Regions from separate parts of the Homo sapiens genome. Here regions 1, 2, 3, 4, 5 and 6 are each linked to region 7. The links are contacts of gene promoters, found by promoter capture Hi-C in blood cells and fetal thymus (Javierre and others, 2016). All regions are on one chromosome and are shown on one strand. Each heading gives the region's core, a stretch centred on a gene start or on the middle of the fragment in contact. The rest is flanking DNA. Distances are from core to core; before and after follow the strand shown.

Region 1 (3,325 bases), core at 669-3,168, 1.6 Mb after region 7:
CTCCGGACGCTTGGCCACGCTGTCGGCGTGAATGGTCTCGGTGAACGCCGGCCATGGAGACGAGTGTGCATACTTCGAGCGGCTGGAGAACAGCTCATAGCCACACTTGGCACACACGTAAACGCCTGTGGTGGAAGGAGAGGCAAATGTGGAGTCATCAGCTCCCGCCTTTCCGGGGTCAAGCTCCCAAATCCACCAACCCAGGCAAAGACAGCGCTGCCCCCGTTCCGAGGGTAGGCTGTGCTCCTTCCCCAGGCACCCGCCACGGGAGGCGCTGTGCTGAGCTCACGTTTAGTAGATGTGCCAGAGACCAGGGGAGTCACCTTTCACAATTATCTCCTTGATTCTTCTCATAGCCCCGTGACGGGGCATATCCTAACATTTCCATCTTTGCTTGGTGATGCAGACACTCAGCTACAAGTGTGTGCAGCGTGAAGGAACCTGGGTAGTCCAATGAGGACACGGAGCTCCCCCTCGCCCCCCTAGTTCCCCCAGGAACATAGAGGGCAGGGGCCCTGATGTGGCCCAACCACCTGGTCCCTCTCCTTTCTCAAGTGGTCCTCCCTGCTGCCCAACGAGGCCCTAAGCTGGATACCCAGGCACTGCTCTGCTCTCCAGGCAGGAAGAGAACAGTCCCAGAGAAAAGGCCTCCAGGCCACACAGGAGCCCAGGAAGAAAGAGGGCTGGGGACAACAGATTTCAGCCTACCCACAAAGGATCCCTTTGGAGTGGAGGGGGTGGGAAAGTTGCAAAACTGACTTGCAGAACTGTTTTAAGGACTGAAAACAGGAACCTCCAGGGGTGCTGAGTCACCTCTCACCCATCACCTGGGGACAGCCTCCCCTGGAGACTGTAAACTACCCAGCCTTTTCCAGGAACTGGAGAAAAAAGCAAAGAGAAGCCAGCAGCTGCTGTGGAAGTGGAGTTTCTGGCTTGGCAGAGCAGCCTGAGGACAACTGGGATCTAAAGCCAGAGAGTCTTGCTGGGGGAGGCTTTGCCGGGATGGTCCTGTGTCACAGCCCAACCCGCTACAGGGGTGCCACCCAGCAGATCCGCCCAAGGAGACCAGTGCACTCAGACTTGCCTGTGGATGTGTTTTTACCAAATTAGTCCACTACCAGGCGAGCCCAGCCCAGAAGGGATTCATCAGGGCCAGTGTGGAGGGCTGGCCATGCCCCAAACCACCCCATCCTGCCTGCCTGGTCAAACTTCACGGGCTGTTGGCAGGTGCCTGGTGGCACTCCTGGTTCCCCAATTTGGAGTCCCTGGGCAGGTGGGGAGGCACCTGGGCCGGCACATTAGGATCTGAAGGGGACATTCTATGCTTGCCAGACTCCTCCCAGAGATCCCGGACTCGGGGGAATGGGAAGGGCCAGGGTAACACCTGCGGGATGACCCGCGAAGGGGCGCCCCGGCCACAGGAGCTGGCCCTGGACAAGAACCTGGCCTCTCCGAAGCCCCGACCCTAACCCGAATTCCCCCAGCGCCATCACTTTGGAGTGTAGGGGGTAGGGAAGGGGTACCACCCCCACGTATCCCGATCCCTTAGACCCACCCCCGAAACGGCACGTTCACACTCGAGGCCTGCCCCCTCCAGGACGGTGAGCCCCAAGGCCCCCTCTCCTCGGGTACCCCACTCTCCTCGCCCCCAGGCTCCCCACTCCTCCGCAGTCCTTTTGACCCCTGTTCGCTTCTCCCCGGCAGCCACATTCGCCCCCATTCCCGGCTTGGGAGAGACATCACCCCCGGACGACGGCGGCGCCCCCGCTAATGCGCGCCCCCCGCCGCGCTGCCCTCCCAGCGAGAGGCCGCAGGACCAACCAGGTTCAAAGTGATTCTGGAAAACCTCGCCCCCGAAGAAGCTGCAGAACGACATGGCGCCACCGGAACCGCAGCGCGCTTGCCGCTGCCAACTGACCAAAGGCTGCCGACCCGACGACCGCCGGTACCCGCGTCCACCTCCCCGCCCCTCCCGAGGACCAATCGCTCCCCGGAGGGCGAATCCCGGCTTCCGCCTCCGGGAGGCCCCGCCCCTCCTCAGGGCTGGTCCAATACGATCTTCCCAGCTGGCCCCGCCCACGTTGACTCCTTGGGACCACTCCTGGGCCACTTCCCCAAGGCCCCGCCCCCCGGTGCCAGTCCAATCGCATCTCCCCAGCAGGCCCCGCCCATGGAAACTCCCAGGGACCACCCCTAGGCCGCTTCCCCAAGGCCCCGCCCCTGCCGCCCCTCGCGCCCTGGTGGCTAGGGGCGCACATGGGGCCTGGCCAGGTGGGCGACGGCGCGAATCCGTAGGGTCGTGTCCCCCCAGTCCAGTCCCTGGTACTAAGCCCGGAGCTGCCGGAGGTCATGCAGCCTTTCCGCGCCCAGGTGAAACCGCCTTTGCAAAATGATGACTGAAACAGTGAAAGAGATCTAACTCAGCCGACTCTATCTTGCTTCTAACCTCCAAGCTGTCCTTATTCATCCCTGCTGGTAGGTTGAAATAACTTTGGGAGAAACTCAGTTTATAGTTTTTTGTTTTTTTCTTTCTTTCTTTCTTTCTTTTGAGACGGAGTCTTACTCTGTTTCCAGGCTGGAGTGCAGTAGCGCGATCTCAGCTCACTGCAACCTCCAACTCGCTGGTTCAAGCAATTCTCCTGCCTCAGCCTCCCGAGTAGATGGGATTACAATCATGCGCCACCACGCCCAGCTAATTTTGTATTTTTAATAGAGACGAGGTTTCTCGATGTTGGCCAGGCTGGTCTTGAACTCCCGACCTCAGGTGATCCGCCCATCTTGGCCTCCCAAAGTGCTGGGATTACAGGCGTGAGCCACCGCGCCCAGCCAGTTTATAGTTTAAAACAAAGACAGTAACAGCCCTTTCCCAAAGCAGACCACCTCCTTGCCTGGGGACTAGATTGCATTTTTAGGACTAACATTAGCCACAATATTGGGAATTATGGTTTAGGAGTCGTGCATCTGGAGGCTACAAGATTCTGACCCTCCCTAAGCTGCCCCTAAGATCAGTGCTTGAGATATTTTGCCGACCCTGCAACTTGATGGATCTGCTGGCACCAACCAGATTGATAAACTGGCTCATCTGATCTTGTGGCCACCACCCAGGAGCTGACTCAGCGCAAGAAGACAGCTGACTCCCTGTGATTTCCTCCCTGACCAATCGGCTCTCCTGGCTCACTGGCTCTCCCCACCCGCCAAGTTATCCTTAAAAACTCTGCTCCCCGGCACTCCAGCAGCCTGGGCGACAAGATCAAGACTCTCTCAAAAAAAAAAAAAAAAAAAACCTCTGCTCCGCAAATGCTCAAAGAGATCGATTTGAGTAATA
Region 2 (3,342 bases), core at 361-2,860, 1.6 Mb after region 7:
CATGGCGAAACCCCGTCTCTACTAAAAATACAAAAAAAAAAAAAAAAAAAATTAGCTGGGTGCGGTGGCACACCTGGAATCCCAGCTACTCCAGTGGCTGAGGTAGGAGAATCACTTGAGCCCCTGAGGCAAAGCTTGCAGTGAGCCAAGATTGCGCCACTGCACTCCAGCCTGGGTAACAGAGTGCGACTGTAACTCAAAAAATAAATAAATAACTAAAGAAATAAATGAGTCGACAGCAGCATCAGACTTGCCCTTGGGATTGGCACGGAGAGGTCAGTGGCAACCTTGAGTTTAGGTGGCGGTGGGAGCTGATTCTGCCGGGTCAGAGGGAGAGAGAGGAGGGTGTTGCAGGCAGAGTTTGCTGCTAAAGGAAGCAGTAACGTAAGGCAGCTGGAGGGGAGGTGGGGTCAACAGTGTTTGGCTTTTAGGAGAAAGTGCAGCATGTCTGGGTGCTGATGTTAGTGATGAAGTAGAGAATGAATGACACAGAGGGGAGGTCTGTGGCCAACAGGTGAGAGGGGTTGTGATCGGACGCACAGTGTGATGGACTTGGAACACAGTGAGTAGCGCCTCTGGCAACACCTGCTCTGCCCACCTGTGCCCAGCAAGGCTGAAGAATGAGCTCCAGGGGGGCTGGGCCACGCAGCACCATCTGTGCACCCGGCTCGTGTAGCAGGGACCTGGGTTGCTTATTATCTGAAGTACAGGGTGGTAACAGTCTCCGCCACTACACAGGTCAAGCGCTTGGCGCTGTAAATGTCAGTGCAGACATCTCAGTGCTCTAGACAGAAACCTAGGAGTCATCTGAACTTCCAGCCTGCTAGGAACATGAGGAGAGGGACCTTGTTGCACCCAAGGCTGGGGTCTGTGGAGGGGACTCAGCGGGACACAGGGCAGCCAGGCACCACCCCCACCCGACTCCTAGTCTCTGATGCCGCTCCCTGCCCTCCATTCCAGACTAGGCGCCGCAAGTACGCTGGGGAGACCCAGGAGTAGGGAGGGCATTGGGAGCACCACCACCTGGCCACGGGCAAGGAGCGGAGACACCGAAACCAACACTCCCAGCGGCGCTGGCCACGGTGGCTCTGTCCCCTCCCTCAACAGGTGCTCCTGGGGCCAACGCCTTTCTTCCCACCAGATCCTCCCCGCCAGAGGCTAGAAGCTGTGATAGCAGCTAGAGCACAGTGGGGGGCCATGAGAAAGACCCCAGTTATCCATCTGGTCTTCTTGGGACCAGGGCCAGGGAGCCGGTCCCCTCTCCCGTGGGTTGGGGGAAGATGCTGCAGCCCGTGGACCTCCTACCCCTTTACTCCCTCACCCAAGTGCCCTTCCCAGAGGAGCGGACTCCTCCTGTCTGTCCTCCCGGCTCTAGCAAAGTCTGCGCCCAGCACCCGAGCCCCACCCTGCCCCCGGGGACCTGGCTGGTGGGTTCCTGAGGATGGTCTCCATCTCGGGACCGGGGCAGGCAGGTGAGGGTGGGGGATGGGAGGTGGGCGCGGCGGAGGGAGAGGAGGGACCCGGCCCCGCGCGCATGGACCCAGTGGGGGGCGCGGGCGCGGCCCCGCCCCGTCCCGCGCGTCCCCGCCGCGGCCGGCGCGCGCTCCCGGGAGGCGGCAGCGGCTGCAGCGTTGGTAGCATCAGCATCAGCATCAGCGGCAGCGGCAGCGGCCTCGGGCGGGGCCGGCCGGACGGACAGGCGGACAGAAGGCGCCAGGGGCGCGCGTCCCGCCCGGGCCGGCCATGGAGGGCGCCTCCTTCGGCGCGGGCCGCGCAGGGGCCGCCCTGGACCCCGTGAGCTTTGCGCGGCGGCCCCAGACCCTGCTCCGGGTCGCGTCCTGGGTGAGTGGTCCCTGCCCGGGCCCCCGCTCCCGCCCCTGCCTCGCGACCTTCAGGCCCCTACCAGCCCCCTGCCCCCTACCCCCTGCCCCCTGCTTCTCGCCCCCCGACCTCACTCACTCTCATCCTCGCCGGCCCCTCCCCCGCCGGCCTCAGGTTGGGGTGACGTCACCGGGCAGGGCGCGCCCACCTGCGGGCGGAGGAGGGGCCGGCGGCGCCGGAGAGGGACCTTGAGAGGTCACCGCCGGTCGCCTCTACCCCTACCTCCTCCCCGGGTCTAATTTCAGTCCCTTTCCGCAGCCCTTACTCCGTTTTTCCTGTTCTCGTGACCTGGAAGCAGGGACGGGGTGGGGACGGAATTCTCCGAGGGGCAGGAGGGGGCTACGGGAACCGAGAAGCGCCTCCCCTTCCCCCGCACACACACCCTCGGGTCTCCTTGGCAGGGAGCCTGTCCCCTGGCCCCCAGTTCCAGCTGTGAGTTGAGGGAGGAGAGGCTCTGGGCTGGGAGGGCTTCCTGGCGGCGGTGTGGAAGGCAGGTTTGGGAGCAGCCTAGCCCACTGGGGCGTCCCTGGGAGGGCCCTGCTGCTCCTTCCCTCCGGCAGGGGAGGTGGCAGTTGGGTGCCGAGCTCTGGGTTTTGTCCAGGTGGCAACCTCTGGGCCAGCCGCACCTCGGCGCCTGTCTTGGAGGAGGGCGGTGCCCACGGTGGGGCAGGGGCTTTGGCCTCCCCTGCGGAGTGGCTCTGACCAGACCGGGAGGCAGGACGCTGCGTTTTGGTCCGAGCGCACGTCCCGACTTGTGGCCCACTCTTGGGGACAAGTGCATGTCCCGGCTTCCCCCTTGGCTCCACTCTCGGAGCTGGAGCGGGAAAGGAGCGAAGGGATGAGGTTGAGGCTGGAGGTCGTTTCTTGGAAACACAGGGCTGCCCCGTGCAGCGCTGGTTAAAATGACTGCGGTCCCCCTCATGCCTGTCTCCCGGAACTGGTGGGCAGGAGGCATTGAGGTTTGACGGAACCTCAGAGGTCAACGGTGTCATCTTTTCAGCCCAAACACTTACAGGTGATATTAATAATCAGTCACGTGGGGGCTGTCATCCCTCGGGTACCCACCACGTGCAGGAAGCTGGGTGGACATGTCTGTCCCAGCACTGCATGAGCTGTGCCCGTCACCCTATTTGCATGCTAGAAAACAGGCCAGACAGTTCCCAACCGCGCAGGAAGCAACAGCTCCGCTGCCTCCATACCCTCCCTCCCGCCCCGCTCTGCCTGCTGCACTCTCACCTCCCCTTCGCCGTTCCGGCTCCAGCCTGGGAATCGCGGGCCCAGGTGAAGGCTCCTGTTCCCACACTCTTGAGTGGGCTCTGAGGGGACTCCACGGGCCCACGCGGTGCAGAGTACCTGGCTTGAATCAACCCCGGCTTTTGTCAGCCATGTGATCCCGGACAAGTCACTTCACCTGTTGGGGTCCCAATGTCCCCCGCATTTATAAAGAGAATAAGAACAATG
Region 3 (3,599 bases), core at 392-2,891, 1.6 Mb after region 7:
CCCTCCTCCCCAGCTTCTAGCTTGGTAGCCCCTCCTACCCTCCTCCCTGCAGCAGGGATTAGGGATGCATTCTGACCCCTGCCTGCCGTCAGGGGAGTGAGGTCTCTCCCTGGAGCCTGAGCTGAGGATGCCCAATTCAGCCAGGTGAGCCCCGGGATGGACTCCATGTCCCCTAGCCACCACCTGACTTCCCCAGCACCCCACACTGGCACCAGCCCTTCAGATCTCAGAAGCGAGCCACCCTATTCTCACGGAGCCCCTTCCTGCCTGCCCTCCAAACCCAAGAGTAGTTTTAGTACAAAAGGCAAAGTTAACAAATAGGGGTAGGCGTCAGGGAAGGAAGAGGATCAGAGGATCGGGAACGGAGAAACTGGAGCACCTGGAGAAGCGTCTGGGTCCTGCCACCCCCACTGACTCCCCAACTGGCCTTGGGCAGGGTCCTCTCTGCAGGCGCTGGGTCCAAGCTTGGGGATGAGCAGCCACCAGCGCGGGCTGCTTCAGCTGAGGCTGCCGCACCCCCACGTCCATCCTGGGTAGAGGCAGGACAGCCACAGAGCCCCATGCACGGGGCTGGACTCACCCTGGGCACTCACCTAAAGGCAGTCTCCTCCTTTCCAAAGCCCAGACTTTCTCCGGACTCCCAGGACCACCAACAAGGGTTCCTGTGCGCAGACTCGGGGGTCTTGGGGAGGAAGGACGCTTTCTAGGTGGCTGCCTGGAACCTGGAGGCCCCTTTCTACAGTACCTGGCCAGCGGTCGGTCACACCTGAGTGCCCAGAGTGAGCGGGCGGCAGAGGCATTTCTGACGCTGCCAGGTAATCCCACGGGCTGGAAACGACCTCTGGGCTGGGAAGCCACCGCCTCCCCCAGTCCTGCTGGGTCCCTCAGCAGAGAGAACGGAACCGGGGCTTTCCCCACAGTTTTCAAAGTTTCAGGGAATCCTAGCCAAGTATCATTCCTTCTTCCGGAGCCGGGACCCCAGGTCAAGCCTGGGGCCCCCACAGGGCGGTCCCAACCCCACTGCCCGGAGCGCACCCCTGCTCCCTGGGAGGCAGGATATCGTGCCGCTGCTCCCTGGGGCGCACGATACCCTCCCCAGGAAGGCGCCGGTCAGGGCGGACGGGCCAGGGTGCTCACCGGTACCAGGCGAGGCCGCGCTCGTAGCACCTGTCGAAGAAGTGGGGCTCAGAGCCCAGCGCGCGGACGTCGGGGTGCAGCCGCAGAAACTCCAGCAGGGCGCGCGTGCCGCCCTTCTTCACGCCAACGATGAGCGCTTGCGGGAAGCGCCGGCGGCCGGGACCGCTGGCCAAAGGCAGGCCGGGTGCTCCCGGGCGGTGGACGGAGCTGGACGGCTCGGAGGGCGCGGGGGCCGGCGCGGGGGCGCGGGCGGCCGGCGGGCAGCGGCCGGGGAGGGCGCAGAGGCAGTAGGCGCCGAGCACCAGGGCCACGAGCAGCATCGGCGCGCGGGACGCCCGCAGAGCGGCCCCTTGCCCGGCCCCTGCGCCCTGGCCGCCCCCGGCCCCGCCGCCCAGGCCGCCGCTACCTGCCATGGGGTCGCGCCGCTCCAGGCCCGGGAGCGGGGGCAGCAGGCGGGCGCGCATCTCGGCCCGCGCGCCGCTCAGTCCGTGGGTGCCCGGCTTGTGCTCTGCGCCCGGCGGTCCCGCAGCCTGGGAGCGGGCGCGGGGCGGGACCGGGGGCGGGGTCTGGACGCCCTCCCCCCTCCCCCTCCCCCGCCCACTCCGCCTCCGAGGCCACTGCCTGGGCTGGACCCGCCGGCAGCCGCCACCACCCGGGCGCGACTCGAGCTGCCGGGACCACCAGGACGCTCCTGCTCCGAGATCCCAGGCCCTGGCTCGCTTGACTCCGGCATCTTCACCTCTGCGCGGGGAGGATGCGGCGGCGGTGGCCGTTCGGGACGCAGGGCAGGGACAGGGCGGCGCGCGGGCCTCGGGACCCTCTGTTTGAAGACCGATCCCCTTCCCCCCCCACCCCACTCCGGGACGTGCGCGGCAGGTGCATAGGCCAAGCCTTGGCCTGCAGGAGCGGGAGCCTCATCGCCAGGCCAAGGGGACCCAGGAAAAGCGTCGATCCGGGCACTCGGCCTGCCAAGGGAGAAAGAGGCCGGGACAGCACCCTAGTGTGCAGAGAGGGATCCCAGAACGTGTGGGGGGAGTCTGCGGCCGGGAATGGCGTGCGTCCTGCACTCCCAGCTGACAGTCACACATCGGGTCACAGCCTGGCCGCTGAGAGGTCAAGTCACCTCTGGTTACTGTTTTAGAATGGAGGGGACAGGCTCAGAGAAAATAGGTTTCCCTCCCAGGGGCCCAGTGGTGAACTGAATTCAGGCCTGAGACATACTCTGTCTACTAAGTCACCCCATCTGCCCAGCCTTGGTCCACCTGGCACTGCCCAGAGACATCAGTGATGCATTTCGGAAGCTGGCAAAGTGGACCCCACTGGAGTACAAAGGACTCAGGGACCCCTGTGCTGGGGAAGAGAAGGAGCCCAGGACCTCCCCCAGGGGCTGCCTCTGAGGGGCGTGAGATTCAGGGGCCTCTCGGGTGGGACCTGCGGGGGCCGCTAGACACTGCGGGAACTTCACATCCCCAACGCCCAGCAGCAGCCTGCAGGGAAGGCAGGGGAGGCGAGCCGGGCTCAGAGAGGGCGAGCAACTTGCCCCATCCGAAGGCAAAGGTGGTATGAGACCCGGGTCCTCTCTCCACCTCTGCCCCAGCCTTCCTGGCCACAGGGCTGGCGCCAGGCAGGCACGGCACAGGCTCCCGGCAGAGGCCCAGCCTCTTCCCAGCCAAGGGCTTGCGGCCCCTGTCCTGGGCTCTGCTGCGTTAATGAGCCGTTCCAGCCCTGATGGCATCTGGACAAGTCCCAGCAGCCGGGCTGCCTCAAGGGGCCGAAGGCCTCCACGACCCACAGACATTCCGGAGCTCCTACCCAGCAGCAGCCCTGGCCAGAGGGGGCCACACGGGGCTGACGGGGTGAAGACCACTGACCAGTCCCCCAGCCCCGGCTCCAGACATGCGGGCTGCACCTGCTCATCTGGGCAAGCCTCTGCAGGAGCCCCGTGGGCAGGCAGCGGGCACAATGCGAGGAGAGCATGCTGGCTTATGCTGGGTCACAGGAAATTCTTCTTCTGGTCTAGCTTGAAACGGTATTGTTCCCAACGGGCTGGCTCGGGGTGGGGGCTGGGGTCCCACCCTGCAGCATCCACCCCACAGTCTCAGCAGTCCCCACGGTCTCAGGAGTCCTCACGGTCTCAGGAGTCCCCACGGTCTCAGCATCCCCATGGTCTCAGCTGTCCCCAGGGTCTCAGGAGTCCCCACGGTCTCAGCCGTCCCCATGGTCTCAGCCGTCCCCAGGGTCTCAGGAGTCCCCACGGTCTCAGCCGTCCCCACGGTCTCAGCAGTCCCCACGGTCTCAGGAGCCCCCACGGTCTCAGCCATCCCCACGGTCTCAGGAGTCCCCACGGTCTCAGCAGTCCCCACGGTCTCAGGAGCCCCCACGGTCTCAGCCATCCCCACGGTCTCAGGAGTCCCCACGGTCTCAGCCGTCCCCACGGTCTGAGTCCCCACGGTCTCAGCTGT
Region 4 (3,588 bases), core at 1,078-3,577, 1.6 Mb after region 7:
AGATTGAGACCATCCTGGATAACACAGTGAAACCCCGTCTCTACTAAAAAATACAAAAAATTAGCCAGACGTGGTGGCAGGCGCCTGTAGTCCCAGCTACTCGGGAGGCTGAGGCAGGAGAATGGTGTGAACCCGGGAGGCGGAGCTTGCAGTGAGCCGAGATCACGCCACTGCATTCCAGCCTGGGCAACAGACCCAGACTGTCTCAAAAAATAAATAAATAAAAATAAATAAATAAGGGGAATACAAGAATGGCTACTCCATAGACAGAATACCTTTTTCTTCTTTTTTGAGACTGGGTCTTGCTCTGGCACCCAGGCTGGAGTGCAGTCACGTGATTACGGCTCACTGCAGCCTCAACCTCCCTGGGCTCAAGCAATCCTCCCACCTCAGCCTCCTGAGTAGCTGGGACTACAGGCACGCACCACGACTGCCGGCTAATTTTTGTGTTTATTTTAGAGATGGGGTTTCACTGTGTTATCCAGACTGGTCTCAAACTTCTGGGCTCAAGTGATCCTCCTGCCTCCAAAGTGTTGGGATCACAGGTGTGAGCCACCATGATGGCCTACTTTCTTTCCCTCAAATATCTCTCCTCTCAGAGATTTTCCCTGATCATACTTCTCAGTTCTCCTTCTCAGTTACTTTCGTTTTTTCATTTTTTTCTTTTCTATTTTTTGAGATAGGGTCTCTGTTGCCCAGGCTGGAGTGCAGAGGCCCAATCACAGCTCACTAGAAACTCAGCTTCCCAGGCTCAAGCAGCCCTCTCACCTCAGCCTCCAGAGTAGCTGGGACTACAGGCACACCACCACCCCTACTAAATTTTCTGTGTGTGTGTGTGTGTATGTGGAGACAGGGTCTCGCCATGATGCCCAGACTGGCCCAGTTACTTTTTTTTTTTTCTCTGAGACAGTCTTGCTCTATCGCCCAGGCTGGAGTGCAGTGACGTTGCGATCTTGGCTCACTGCAACCTCCGCCTCCGGGTTCAAGCGATTCTCCTACCTCAGCCTCCCGAGTAGCTGGGATTACAGGCACCCGCCACCACACCAGGCTAATTTTTGTATTTTTAGCAGAGACTGGGTTTCACCATGCTGGCCAGGCTGGTCTCGAACTCCTGACCTCGTGATCCACCGGCCTCGGCCACCCAAAGTGCTAGGATTACAGGCGTGAGCCATCGCGCCCGGCCTGGCTGTTACTTTCTACCAGCTTCAGAGCCAGTAGCACAAATGGCTCAAAACCTTGAACTCAGAGTAAAAGCTAACTCCTCGCCACGGCGCACAGGCAACTGCATGCCCTCTGCCCTCTGCACCCACTCCCTGCAGCCACCCGGCTTGTTGCTACTCAATGCTTGGCACCCCCAGTCCTAGGCCTGTGCCCTGGCTGTTCTCAACACCATTCGTTCCACAGGGCTCCCTGCTTCGCGAACTTGTGTCTGCTCAGGCGTCACCTTCTCAATACAGCCTCCTCCTTCCTCCCTTCCGCTCCCTCCCTTCTGTTTTTTTTTCTTTCTTTCTTTCTTTTTTTCTGAGACGGAGTCTCACGCTGTCACCCAGGCTGGAGTCCAGTGGCGCAATCTCAGCTCACTGCAGCCTCCGCCTCCGGGGTTCAAGCGATTCTCCTGCCTCAGCCTCCCAAGTAGCTGGGATTACAGGCATGTGCCACCACGCCCAGCTAATTTTTTTTTTCTGTTTTTAGTAGAGACGGGGTTTCTCCACGTTGGTCAGGCTGGTCTCGAACTTCCGACCTCAGGTGATCCACCCGCCTCGGCCTCCCAAAGTGCTGGGACTACTGGCGTGAGCCAACGCGCCCGGCCCTCCTCCTTTTTCCATCGCGCTCAGCAACTATCACTCGTCGCCCGTTCTGTTTCTTCTCTGGTGTCCGCCAAGTGCCGATTACAGTGCTTTGCACACAGAAGGTGCTCAATACATGAATGCCTTTGAGATTACCCGGTTTATTCATTTACCTACGTTATTTATCAAGAGCCACACTGCGAGCCCAGGGGCAGGGTCAGGTTGACGGCTCTACGCACGGACCGCACCCGACAGCTGGTACCCCCACATCCCAGAACGCCGAAAAGCAGGAGTAAACGCTGGCTACAAATGCCTTTTTATACTGGTATCAAAGAGCCAGGCCACCAGCGATGCCACATCCGCCGGTCTACCCCCACCGACCCGCGAAGCACCCTCACAGCTCACGGCCCTCCCTCCAGGCCGGAAACGTCTCCGCCCGCTTCCGCTTCCCGATGCAGCCGCCACTGCCCGAAGCAAAGATGGCGCCAAGTGCGCGGCGCCGGCGGGGACGTCACAGTGGTCGCGCGCGGTGACGCCATCGCAGCGCGCCGGGAGTGTGGCGTTCTGTGAAGAGTTCGGTGCTAACCTCCCTCACGCGGCGGTGGCTGCCGGGACCCTAGCAGGTTTCAGCTGGAGCGGCGGCGGCGGCAACATGGCAGAGACCGCGGCCGGAGTGGGCCGCTTCAAGACCAAGTGAGCCCGGAGCTCTGGGGCCGTGCGGGGAGGGAGCTGGGTTTGCAGCCGGCATAGCGGAGGCGCGCGTGGGGTGGGCACGCATTGGGGTCCGTGGAGGCGAGAGGCTGTGTGTGCGCCGGCCCGCGGGGTCGCGGAGGCTGCGGTGATACTAGGCGGGAGAGCCGGCCCCGGCTGCTCTCGGGGAGGACGGCGATCGGAGCCCGGCCGCCGGGAGCAGCAGCGTGGGCTCATCGAGAAGCCGGCTATGGGGTGGAGTGGGGACCAGAAGTCCCGATGAGGGGAGGAGAGGGCTGAGCCTAGGTCGGGGCTGGTCCCGGGAGGCGGCGGGGGCGAAGAACCACCTCTGAGCAGTCGGCCTGGGGACCTTTCATCCGCGATCCGTCTTCTCCAGGGAGCAGGGAGAATGCAGGAGAGGGGCGGGTCCGCAGAAGCCCAGGAGGCCCTGAGTGCTGTGCCCCGTCACTCCCCAAGCCTTTGCCGAACAGCAGTGCTGGTGCCCCCGCCCTGGCAGCGCAGCCTCATGGGATTATCGTTTCCACTGGCGGCTGTGGGGCTTTGGTTGTGCCAAGCACTGGTAAAGGAAAGTCCCAGGCTGGCAGCACCGTCGTGGGAGGGTCAACTGGGTGCGGGGGCTGAGGGGCCGCTTTCGTTTTGGCAGTCAGGCTTCCAGAAGCGCAGTGAGCCAGGCCTTGACATCTGGGAAGAGAAGCCCAGGCCGCGTACAGGGAATAGGGGGAAGATAGGAAACCCGTCCCAGAGGCTGGGACAGGAGCAGTGGGGTGCACTGTGGGCCATGAGAAGGAAAGAAAGCAGAGGCAAGGGTGGCAGAGGCTCTTCTGGGCAAGGTCTGGGAGGTGTGTGGGCAGAAGGGAGGGGCTAACGCAGGGCAGTGACATCTTCAGTTATGTTCTGAAAGGTACCTGGCAGCAGGGTTAAGAGGTAGGTAGGGGAGGCCGGGCGCGGTGGCTCACGCCTGTAATCCCAGCGCTTTTGGAGGCCGAAGCGGGCGGATCACGAGGTCAGGAGATTGAGACCACGGTGAAACCCCGTCTCTACTAAAAATACAAAAAATTAGCTGGGCGCAGTGGCGGGCACCTGTAGTCCC
Region 5 (3,653 bases), core at 382-2,881, 1.5 Mb after region 7:
AATGTACCACTGAAACTTTTTTTTTTTTTTTTTTGAGATGGAATCTCACTCTGTCACCCAGGCTGGAGTACAGTGGCGCGATCTCGGCTCACTGCAACCTCCACCTCCGGGGTTCAAGCGATTCTCCTGCCTCAACCTCCCGAGTAGCTGGGATTACAGGTACATACCACCACGCCCGGCTAATTTTTTGTATTTTTAGTATAGACGGGATTTTACCATGTTGGCCAGCCTGGTCTCGACCTCCTGACCTCAGGTGATCCACCCGCCTCGGTCTCCCAAAGTGCTGGGATGACAGGCGTGAGCCACCGCGCCCGACTGGCCTAAACCATTTTTAAGGGCGTAAGTCAGTGCCACTATGTACATTAATAAGGTTGTATCACCATCATCATTGTCTATTTCCAGAATGTTTCCATCATCCCAAATAGAATTCAATCTTTAATACTCAAATATTTTAAAATTAAAATAAAGAACACTGAGACGAAGATAAACTAAATCCAGCTGGGCAACTTTTTCTTCTGAATAGGCAGACTCTCACTATCATATCAAACTTATATTCGTGGACATATATTCGTGTTGCAAACTCTGGAAGCACTCACCGAAGCAGATAAAGGCTTTTCAGAGGTTAATGGCCTGTGATGAGTCTTGCAACTAGACCGTGAATCCATCATTCCTGATTCTCACTCCTAATGACATTTTACTGGGTTGTCCAATGAGTTAATAAATGAAAAATTATATTAAAACTTATAAATGCAACATGTACCCTCTATCAGTATTTCCCATCATAAAATAATACTTTAAAAGTGAATTTGAGCCAGCTGCAGTGGCTCACACCTGTAATCCCAGCACTTTGGGAGACCGAGGTGGGTGGATCACCTGAGATCAGGAGTTGGAGATCAGCCTGGCCAACATGGTGAAACCCCATCTCTACTAAAAATACAAAAAATTAGCTGGGCATGGCGGCGCATGCCTGTAATCCCAGCTACTCAGGAGGGTGAGGCAGGAGAATCGCTTGAACCCGGGAGGTGGAGGTTACAGTGAGCCAAGATCAAGCCATTGCACTCCAGCCTGGGCAACAAGAGCAAAACTCCATCTCAAGAAAAAAGAAAAACAAGGTGAATTTGGGCTGAATGCGGCGGCTCATGCCTGTAATCCCAGCACTTTGGAAAGCCAAGGAGGGAGGATCAGTTGAGCCCAGGAGCTTGAGTTCCACCTGGGCAACAGAGTGAGACCCCGTCTCTATAAAAAAAATGCAAAAATTAGCCTGGTGTGATGGAGCTTGTCTGTAGTCCCAGCTACTCAGGAGGCTGAGGTAGGAGGATCGCTTGAGCCCAGGAGGTCGAGGCTACAGTTAGCTGAAATTGCGCCACTGCACTCCAGCCTGGGCAACACAATGAGATCCTGTCTCAAAAAAAAAAAAAAAAAAGAAACTGAATTTATATGGAATCACTGTTGTGACATTTTAACATCTTTTCTCTATAGTTATTGTACAAAGAATACCTTTTTTTTCAAAAAAATTTTCAAGAAAAAAATACTTTCAGGTTTTTCCACGGACTTACAAATATGAGACCGCTACAACAAATGTATCTAGCCTAGCAAAACATGAATGAAACGTTGTATGCAGTCTCTTTTTCTATTAGTCAGTGGCTGAAAGCCTTTGAAACAACCTGATGGGCGGTTGGTATTGTGTAAGACGGTGACCTAAAAACAGCCTGTCAGTTCCCTGCCATCCCATTTTTCAACAGCAGGGTGTGATCATAATGGGCTTTATTGACATCATAAATCTGAGAGCATGGATGGTATCCATTTCCAGTTGTTTAATTGAAGAAACGAAAGATCTTGTAATGTGGAGTTGATATGGAGAGTTTGTCGAGCTACAGTAAAATTTTGCAAGAGCTGTGACCTTGGGTCAGAAAATGACTGATCAAGACGGAACCTTTTGTCATACTGTGGAAGCGACTGTATTGACTTATTTTATTCTTAGCGCTAATGCCAACAGAGAGCACGAATTGCTTCTGACTGCTTTCTGTCTCAACCCAGAGTGACTCTGTGGGCAAATCAATACAAGTATCGTCTAAATAAGCTATGACTAAATAATAAAATATGATAAACTTTTATTATTTATTTTGAGACAGAGTTTCGCGCTTGTGGCCCAGGCTGGATTGCAATGGCACGATCTCTGCTCACTGCAACTTCTGCCTCCCGGGTTCAAGCGATTTTCCTGCCTCAGCCTCCCGAGTAGCTGGGATTCCAGCCATGTGCTACCACGCCCGGCTAATTTTTGTTTTTTCAGTAGAGATGGAATTTCGCCATGTTGGCCATGCTGGTCTTGAACTCCTGGTCTCAAGTGATCCTGGCCTGAGCTTTTCAAAGTGCTAGGATTACAGGCATGAGCCACTGCACCCGGCCTGTTTTCCATCTTCTTAATGTGATGGGTTCTCATAAGGGTGAACAGGTGGGCGTGAGCAACCTGGACCCATACAGGTGAAGCCACAGCAAATCATAGACGGTCCCTGGGTTTCATGGGTTTGGGAACAGCAAATCGCAGACAGTCCCTGGCTTTCCTGGGTTTGGGAACTTTATTTAGGATGTTTGACACAGTTGAGTGTAAAAGAATGATACATTTTCTCACAACTTGTAAGATTTGAGAAGTGCTGAAAGCCCTAGAGAGGAGAAAGAGAATGGTGGTGTCTATTAAAATGCAGTGTGAGATCATCTATGATTCATTTACATAAGATTTAAAAATAAGCAGAACAAATACATAGCTTTACAAGGTCCAGTCGTGGTTACTCTTGCTGAGGAGGGGTAGGCAGAGGAAGGGGAGTGAGGGGGGTTCTGGGGTGCTGGTTACCTTCTGTTCCTTGGTCTGAGCAATGGTAAATGGTCACCTTTGTGAAAATTCATTGAGTTGTACACTGATGGCTTGGGCACTTCTATGTGTATAATATTCAATACATTTTTTGAAAATGTAAAAATGGGCCAGACACAGTGGTTCACACCTGTAATCCCAGCACTTTGGGAGGTGGAAGCGGATGGATTGCTTGAGCTCAGGAGTTTGAGACTAGCCTGGGCAACATGGTGAAATCCCATCTCTACAAAAAATAGCCAGGGGTGGTGGCTCACCTGTAGTCCCAGCTACTTGGGAGCCTGAGGTGGGACAATCACCTGAGCCCAGGGAAGTTGAGGCTGCAGTGAGCTGTGATTGTGCCGCTGCACTCCAGCCTGGGTGACAGAGCGAGACCTTGTCTCAAAAAAAAAAAAAAAAAAAAAGGGCTGGGCACGGTGGCGGCTCGTGCCTGTCATCGCAGCACTTTGGGAGGCTGAGCCGGGTGGATCACCTGAGATCAGGAGTTTGAGACCAGCCTGGCCAACATGGAGAAACCCCGTCTCTACTAAAAATACAATATTAGCCAGGAGTTGTGGTGCATGGTGCTCACACCTGTAATCCCAGCTACCCGGAGGCTGAGGCAGGAGAATTGCTTGAACCCAGGAGGCAGAGGTTGTGGTGAGCCGAGATCGTGCCATTGCACTCCACTGGGCAACAAGAGCAAAACTCCGTCTCAAAAAAAAAAAAAAAAAAAAAGTAAAAATGTAGTATAGAAGAATCTTTGTCAGTCCTTTACAGAAAGTTGATATGAGAATTGTCTAATAGAATT
Region 6 (3,393 bases), core at 207-2,706, 1.8 Mb after region 7:
GCCTTTTTGGACTCACCCTGGGGCAAAAGGCATGAAAAACAGTATTTGACTGGGCGTGGTGGCTCACACCTGTGATCCCAGCACTTTGGGAGGCTGAGGTGGGCAGATCACCTGAGGTCAGGAGTTTGAGACCAGCCTAACACGGAGAAACCCCGTCTCTACTAAAAATACAAAATTAGCCGGGCGTGGTGGTGGGCGCCTGTAATTCCAGCCATTTGGGAGGCTCAGGCAGGAAAATCGCTTGAGGTGGAGGTTGTGCCATCGCACTCCCGCCTGGGAAACGAGCAAAACTCCGTCTCAAAAAAAAAAAAAAAAAATCACGGGCAGAAATGGAGAAGGCAATCCCAAGAGATGAAAAGTCACTGGTAACGAGCTTCCGTTTTCATGTCTGTACCCTTTTCCAAGATTGCCTGTGGATCAGCCAGACCTCTGGGGTGCCAGAATAGGAAAATAAAGACACTTGAGAGAAAACCGAATCAACTCACTACCTTTCTTTATTGCTAAGCACTTCAATAGACACAGCGCCCACCTTACCGCTAGGCCCTCCGGATTGAGGTTTACTTAGGTTCAAAACTTGCAGCCGGCTCGCGACGAAACCTGAAAGTCAGCGCCAAAATACAGACATTAAGTCCCCACTCCTTCGTTTCGGGCAACACCTGTTTCCACTCTCAGCTCCCCGTCAGGAGTGCGCACCCTCAAGCCTCAGTCTTGCTAAATAATCAGACTGCACGTGCAGTTTTCATACGAGGTGTCAGAAGTCAAAGCAATTCATCACAGACTGGGAGAATAAGGGAACCCAAGCCCGGCCCAGTCTTACCTGCAGGTAGCTGAGGGCCTGAGATTCGGGAAGAAACCTTTAAACGCTAAGGGACAAAGTGGTGCGTAGGCCAGGCCTGGACGCCCAGGGACCTGGCCGGCCTGCAGCGTTCGGACGGCCCTCAAAGCCACGCTCGTGGCTCAGTTCGTCCCAAGATCGTAGCACATGGCGAACGTATTAACAAACCTCTTCCCCCTCGGACTCGACCCCGAAAAGACAGGGGCGGGCGAGGCTCAAGCTTTTATAGAAACTGTCCCACCTCTGTCATTGGGCTATCCTGGCGGAAGTGCCCGCCTTCCCCCGCCGCTGGTACGCTCCGCTCCCTGCCGCGTTGTTTCCACCAATCGTACCGTGGCATTTCTTTTGGAGACGGTCTCTCAGACCCAGACCCGAAGCTCCTCCCTTATGCAGAGTCCGTGAAGCCTAACGGTGAGTGACGGATGAACAAAGCCAATCAGACTTCGATCTGCAACATAGAGTGATTCTGAAGCTGCCATTCCCGCCCCGCGACGACGAGGCCGCCGGAAGTCGTAGTTTCGGAAGTGCGGCGCGTGAGGCAGCCGTCCGGGCCCGGAGAGGCGGGGAACTACACGTCCCGGCGGGCGCAGCGGCCTGGCGCTTCCGGCTCGCGCGTCTAGTCCCTTTCCCGGCCGGCGGCCGAGGGGGCATCATGAAGCGGGCTGGCGGCGCTGCCGCTCCCGGGCGGCCGCGGGCGGGTGAGTGTCCCCGCGGCGCGCCCGACCCGGGGCTCGCGCCTCGGGACCGCGCGGTGGGGCGGGATCGGGCGCGTGGAGATCGAGGCGAGGCGAGGCGAGGCGAGGGGTCGGGCCGGGGCGGGGAGGGGGGGGCGGGGCTGAGACGGTCGGGGTCGGGGTCAGGGTCGGGGTCCGCGTCGCTGTCCGTCCGCCAGTCAGTAGTCCGTCCCTCGCTCCGTCCTGTTCTCGCGCAGTTCTTTACTCATTCCTTCTTCCTGCATTCCCCGAGACTCCCGGGTGCCAGGCACTGTTCTGGGCGCCGGGAGACCGCGGAGAACACGGTCCCAGTTCTCCTGTGCTCGGCGTCTGCTGCAGGGTTCCCCAACCTCCGCACCATCGACCACGCGGCCCGGGTCGCTTTTTGCTGCGAGGAGCTGCCCTGTACATTGTAGGATGTGGAACAGCTTGCCTGGCTCCTGGCCGCTAGATACCAGTAAACACCACCCCTTCCTCAATTGCGATAACAAATGTCTCCATGCATTGGCAAATGCCTCCTGCGGAACAACTCCCCCCATCCCCCATCTAGACAGACAGGGTGGTGGGATTGACAATAGGTAGTTAAAATCATGGGGAGCAGCGGTATGTGCTGTGAAAGAAAGAAAGAGGGTGCTGAAAAAGTGAGTACTGGCCGGGGGTAGGGGCGGCGCTACCGTTAGCCAAAGGCCTGTTGGAGAAGCAGCCAGTCCCAGGACATGCAGGAGGAGCATTCCAAGTAGAAAGAGCCAGATGTACATAGGCCTGGGGTGAGAAGGGGCCTGACGCACCCCAGCAAGCACTGGCAAGTGGAGAGGTGAAGTCGATGAGGCCGGACCAGGCTCACAGGGTGCATGGTGGGGTGGGGCGGGGGGGTTATTATGCTGGCAAATGACTTGGGGTTGAGGAAGCGCTGGAGAGGCGGTCCGATCTAGGTCCAGTAAAGAGCTTTCTAACTGTGTGTGGACCACAGACTTCAGAGTTCACTGGGGAAGCAGGAGAGAGGGAGGCTAGGCCATCGTCTCCTAGTCCCCACTGGGGTCCTGCTGTCAAGATACGGTTGTCTTGAGCCAGGCCAGAGTGGTCAGCTGGGGTTGAGTCTGGAGTCCAGGGGCAGGGGCCTGCTGGAGCCCACCCTGCTCTTGGGGGTGAGGGGCTGCTGGCTTGCTCAGGAATTTCATGCCGCCCAGCCTGTCTGCCCACCTTTCTCACTACCCCTCAGACCCCTTCCTGGGCACACACAGGCCCCCTAGCCCTCGCCAAGTGAGGAGCCTCCCTCTTCCTCATTCCTTCTCTTTGGGCCTCTCCCTTCCTAGACCCCTTCCCTGTGCCTCTCTGTTGCGAATATCCTGACTTCACTGTTCTGGGCATTCATAGTTCTCTGTGGAAGCCTCGGGCCCCGTGTCCTGAGGGGGAGCAGTGGTATGGGCAGCCTGGCCTAAGGAGGGGAGGGGCTGGGAGTCAGCACCCCAACCTGACGCCCCAACCTGAGGGTCTCTGGTGAAGTGACTTCCACCGTGGCCCACTGGGGCCAAGTGTTACGATATTTCTGGAAGTGAATGGAAAAGTTCAGGGTCTTTGGCACCCACCGAAAAGTGCCTTTGGCAGATTGAGTGGCGATTGGTGGGGCTCCTGCCCCTCTGTCTGCCTGTGTCCCCCACAAGGCTCCTAGCTCCTCCCGGGTCAGATTCGTGTTCAGCCGTCACACATCCCCACCCTCCCGCATGGGGCCTGGCACCCCGTGGTTGGTGTGACTCTCGGCCAGCTGGTTGGACAAGGAATGAGCAGTTTGGGGAAAGGAGGAAGATGCAGTTGAAGAGCCTCCTGGCCAGGAGGCCTGGGCAGCCT
Region 7 (3,679 bases), core at 734-3,233:
TCTTCTTCTTTTTTTTTTTAACCATTTCTTCTCTTAACCTTTTAGGCCATTACCAGAAACACAGTCAATAAACTAATGAGCAGGTCCGACGGTTCCTCACGCACCCCTGCGGGAACCTGAACGGCAAGGGCTGGCTGCCCACCTCGAAAGGACCCACCGGTCCTCTGAGCAGCTCCAGGAACCAGCAGCCCAAGACAAGCCACCATGTTGCTCCTGCTGTGGACATGTCTGTTGTCCACTCTCTGGCCACAGCCACATTGACCAGCCCTATCCACAAGTGCATCACTGGACTGGCCCGGGAAGACACACGAAAATATCCAGGAAGACCCTGTCCCCAGTCATCAAGGAAGGTCAGGGCAGTCAACAGAAGGGGCCAGCGGCGAGGAGACTGCGGGCTTGACCAAGCGGACCTGGCAGGGGCATGCAAGGCCAGCCCTGAAGGCCACCTGGTGGGCCAAGCCACCCTGAAGGGAAGCAGAGCCTGAGCCCGCCAGCCAGGGAGTGCAGGCCCTGGGCCTCCCGCCCAACACTCAGTCAACAGCAGAACCTGCCTGCTGATCCACACCGCTGAAATGACGAGGTGAACCAGCCAGCTCTGTTCAAAGTTCCACTGACAATGGGAACAAAGACCCGAGGGTGCAGAAAGTGTTCCCACAGAGGCAGAGCGGGGGAGCCAGGGAGGAACCCCATGAAACCTTGGCCCAGGAGCTCAAAATGACAGTGGGTGAGTGGGACAAACACAGAAAAGGGCCAGGAATGGAGCTCTTTCCTAGGCTGAGACAAAGACCTAAGCAGAACACTTCACTTTCCTCAAATCAAGTATGTGAAACCACCACGCGGCTCACACACGGACCAACAAGGACCCGCACTCAGGCGTCCCACAGGGGAACTGGATGCCTGTGGCCGTGCTGGACCGCAGCAGCCCCACCGCAGGGGATGAGCGACTGTGGCAGAGATGCAGGCAAAGTAGCCTCCAGGACAGAGGGGTCAGCACCCGAGGGCTGGCCCTCCTGGCACGTTCCTCCACGCAAATTCCACCCCGGTGAGAGGTGACAGCGTGCTGGCAGTCCTCACAGCCCTCGCTCGCTCTCAGCGCCTCCTCTGCCTGGGCTCTCACTTTGGTGGCACTTGAGGAGCCCTTCAGCCCACCACTGCACTGTGGGAGCCCCTTTCTGGGCTGGCCAAGGCCGGAGCCGGCTCCCTCAGCTTGCGGGGAGGTGTGGAGGGAGAGGCGCGAGCGGGAACCGCGGCTGCATGCGCTTGCAGGCCAGCTGGAGTCCCGGGTGGGCGTGGGCTTGGTGGGCCCGGCACTCAGAGCAGCCGGCCAGCCCTGCCGGCCGCGGGCAATGAGGGGCTTAGCACCCGGGCCAGCGGCTGCGGAGGGTGTGCTGGGTCCCCCGGCAGTGCCGGCCCACCGGAGCTGCGCTCAATTTCTCGCTGGGTCTTAACTGCCTTCCTGCAGGGCAGGGCTCGGGAGCTGCAGCCCGCCATGCCTAAGCCCCCCACCCCCTCCGTGGGCTCCTGTGCGGACCGAGTCTCCCCGACGAGCGCCCGGTCCCATTGACCACCCAAGGGCTGAGGAGTGCGGGCGCACGGCACGGGACTGGCAGGCAGCTCCACCTGCAACCCCGGTGCGGGATCCACTGGGTGAAGCCAGCTGGGCTCCTGATTCTGGTGGGGACGTGGAGAACCTTTATGTCTAGCTCAGGGACTGTAAATACACCAATCGGCACTCTGTATCTAGCACAAGGTTTGTAAACACACCAATCAGCACTCTGTGTCTAGCTCAGGGTTTGTGAATGCACCAATCGACACTCTGTATCTAGCTACTCTGGTGGGGACTTGGAGAACCTTTGTGTGGACACTCTGTATCTAGCTAATCTGGTGAGGATGTGGAGAAGCTTTGTGTCTAGCTCAGGGATTGTAAACGCACCAATCAGCGCCCTGTCAAAACAGACCACTGGACTCTACCAATCAGCAGGATGTGGGTGGGGCCAGATAAGAGAATAAAAGCTGGCTGCGGGAGCCAGCAGTGGTAACTCGCTCGGGTCCCCTTCCATAGTGTGGAAGCTTTGTTCTTTCTCTCTTTCCAGTAAGTCTTGCTGCTGCTCACTCTTTGGGTCCACACTGCCTTTATGAGCTGTAACACTCACCGCGAAGATCTGCAGCTTCACTCCTGAAGCCAGTGAGACCACGAACCCACCAGAAGGAAGAAACTCCGAACACCTCCGAACGTCAGAAGGAACAAACTCCGGACAGGCCGCCTTTAGGAACTGTAACACTCACGGCAAGGGTCCGCGGCTTCATTCTTGAAGTCAGTGAGACCAAGAACCCACCAATTCCGGACACACCGGGACGACTAACCGGCTCTCCACAGGATATGCATCCCCTAACACGTGAGGCCTAAGCTCCAGGCCCTGCTGTGGTAGCAATGCTCACCAGCCGCCTGTTCAGTACCCACTCTCCTTTTCCCTTTGCATTACCCGCAGCCTTCCTTTGGAGGACTGCCCCCAGCTCCCCACTGGGGAGCAGCCGTCTGTCTGGGTGGAGAACCCACTTTCCTTCAGGAGTGACCCTGCTGCACAGCCCCCAGCGCACGCACCGTGACTGTGCTGAGACAGACGGGACACAGCGGCACACGTGCCCTCCTCAGAGCAACAGCGGGCCCATCCGTCAGAGCTGCGGGAAGCATCTGTAAACAAGGGAGCCCAGAGCCCAAGGTCACTGCAGCAGCCACCTCCAACACAAAGCCCACGAAGTCGCCCACCAGGCAGGCAAAGTCAGAATGGCACAAAGCAAAGGTGCCAGGCCCTAAGGCACACCTGAGGCTCTGCCTCAACAGTGCCCTTCAGGGTTGGGCTCAGGTGGGTGGGTTTCCACGACTTCCAACCTAGTGCACCCTCACCTACACCTGGCAGGACAAAGAGAATGGTCTAAATGTGAGGAACGCAGCCTGGACTTCATGCCCTGTCTGTGCTGACAAGCAACCATTCCAACATCAGAGATCTTCAAGCCACAAGGCTGCACCACAGGCCACCTCCCACAGAGAGGATTCAACCGCAGACACGACTCCCAAGCCCCAGGGTCCTCTGCCACCAGCAGCCCCAGAGCAGTCAAGTTAGGACCCAAACTGTGTAGACAGAGCTACACAAAATTAGACAGGAGAAGCCAATGTATCCCACTAATTTCATAGCAAAGGTTCCTTATTACAAATACAGCAAACCAAGGACAGACAGCAAAGCTACTGCTCGCAGCCAAGAACTGAAGAGTGGCTGGGAGGGAGGCACTGGGGTTCCAACAGTGGAAATCAGAACGGAGCTCATTTTCCTCCTGCAGCCCAGCCCTCAACTTCAGTCCCATCTTAAAAATAACCAGCCGGGGCCGGGCGCAGTGGCTCACACCTGGAATCCCAGCACTTTGGGAGGCTGAGGCGGGCAGATCTCTTGAGGAAAGGAGTTCGAGACCAGACTGGCCAACGTGGTAAAACCCCATCTCTACTAAAAATACAGAAAATTAGCTGGGCATGGTAGCTCACACTTGTAATCCCAGCTACTCGGGAGGCTGAGGCAGGAGACTCACTTGAACCCAGGAGGCAGAGGTTGCAGTGAGCTGAGATTGCACTACTGCACTCCAGCCTGGGCGACAGAGCGAGACTCCATCTCAAACAAAAAAACAAGCA

What was found. Contacts are between HindIII fragments. The CHiCAGO score rates a contact against its expected background, and 5 or more counts as called.
Region 1: a contact is called between the fragment with the promoter of MSRB1 here and a fragment that was not itself captured in region 7, in 15 of 17 cell types (M1 macrophages, erythroblasts, naive B cells and 12 more). The highest score is 67.3, in M1 macrophages.
Region 2: the fragment with the promoter of SYNGR3 here is called in contact with a fragment that was not itself captured in region 7 in 12 of 17 cell types (naive CD8 T cells, total CD4 T cells, M1 macrophages and 9 more); the score reaches 33.8 in naive CD8 T cells.
Region 3: the fragment with the promoter of HS3ST6 here is called in contact with a fragment that was not itself captured in region 7 in 8 of 17 cell types (M1 macrophages, naive CD8 T cells, erythroblasts and 5 more); the score reaches 29.9 in M1 macrophages.
Region 4: the fragment with the promoter of TBL3 here is called in contact with a fragment that was not itself captured in region 7 in 14 of 17 cell types (naive CD8 T cells, erythroblasts, M1 macrophages and 11 more); the score reaches 60.2 in naive CD8 T cells.
Region 5: the fragment with the promoter of LINC00254 here is called in contact with a fragment that was not itself captured in region 7 in 1 of 17 cell types (M1 macrophages); the score reaches 6.6 in M1 macrophages.
Region 6: the fragment with the promoter of TRAF7 here is called in contact with a fragment that was not itself captured in region 7 in 6 of 17 cell types (naive CD8 T cells, M1 macrophages, total CD8 T cells and 3 more); the score reaches 9.9 in naive CD8 T cells.

Annotation. Positions count from the first base shown.
Region 1 is chr16:1,941,281-1,944,605 of GRCh38, forward strand. MSRB1 (methionine sulfoxide reductase B1) reads right to left here and starts at 1,919. Exons shown (of 4, transcript NM_016332.4): 1 at 1,822-1,919; 2 at 1-125. The coding sequence starts at 1,876. It overlaps RPL3L (ribosomal protein L3 like), which reads right to left. Exons shown (of 10, transcript NM_005061.3): 10 at 2,694-3,325. It overlaps LOC124903625 (a long non-coding RNA gene), which reads left to right and starts at 1,514. Exons shown (of 2, transcript XR_007064940.1): 1 at 1,514-1,601; 2 at 1,705-3,325. RefSeq lists an enhancer at 1-708 and a silencer at 1,893-2,392. The HindIII fragment of the contact is 19,007 bases long and covers 1-3,325 here.
Region 2 is chr16:1,988,360-1,991,701 of GRCh38, forward strand. SYNGR3 (synaptogyrin 3) reads left to right here and starts at 1,611. Exons shown (of 4, transcript NM_004209.6): 1 at 1,611-1,842. The coding sequence starts at 1,744. RefSeq lists an enhancer at 569-1,148 and silencers at 1,741-1,830, 1,911-2,030, 3,071-3,150. The HindIII fragment of the contact is 15,217 bases long and covers 133-3,342 here.
Region 3 is chr16:1,916,774-1,920,372 of GRCh38, forward strand. HS3ST6 (heparan sulfate-glucosamine 3-sulfotransferase 6) reads right to left here and starts at 1,642. Exons shown (of 2, transcript NM_001009606.4): 1 at 1,138-1,642. The coding sequence starts at 1,550. RefSeq lists enhancers at 1,735-2,296, 2,297-2,860, 2,861-3,422, 3,423-3,599. The HindIII fragment of the contact is 9,727 bases long and covers 463-3,599 here.
Region 4 is chr16:1,969,726-1,973,313 of GRCh38, forward strand. It overlaps TBL3 (transducin beta like 3), which reads left to right and starts at 2,328. Exons shown (of 22, transcript NM_006453.3): 1 at 2,328-2,480. The coding sequence starts at 2,440. RefSeq lists enhancers at 2,114-2,453, 2,514-2,653. The HindIII fragment of the contact is 11,738 bases long and covers 1-3,588 here.
Region 5 is chr16:1,882,600-1,886,252 of GRCh38, forward strand. It overlaps LINC00254 (long intergenic non-protein coding RNA 254), which reads right to left and starts at 1,632. Exons shown (of 3, transcript NR_033914.1): 1 at 1,498-1,632; 2 at 597-697. The HindIII fragment of the contact is 12,471 bases long and covers 1-3,653 here.
Region 6 is chr16:2,154,326-2,157,718 of GRCh38, forward strand. It overlaps TRAF7 (TNF receptor associated factor 7), which reads left to right and starts at 1,457. Exons shown (of 21, transcript NM_032271.3): 1 at 1,457-1,533. It overlaps SNHG19 (small nucleolar RNA host gene 19), which reads right to left and starts at 1,033. Exons shown (of 2, transcript NR_132114.1): 1 at 818-1,033; 2 at 457-597. It overlaps SNORD60 (small nucleolar RNA, C/D box 60), which reads right to left and starts at 780; the gene lies at 698-780. RefSeq lists enhancers at 822-1,021, 1,892-1,991, 2,002-2,141, 2,065-2,646, 2,647-3,230 and 1 more and a silencer at 1,502-1,591. The HindIII fragment of the contact is 6,190 bases long and covers 1,054-3,393 here.
Region 7 is chr16:340,041-343,719 of GRCh38, forward strand. All of the region lies in intron 2 of AXIN1 (axin 1), which reads right to left. Among named protein-coding and RNA genes, the nearest start is that of AXIN1, 11 kb to the right of the region's middle. RefSeq lists enhancers at 1-142, 1,425-1,976. The HindIII fragment of the contact is 169 bases long and covers 1,900-2,068 here.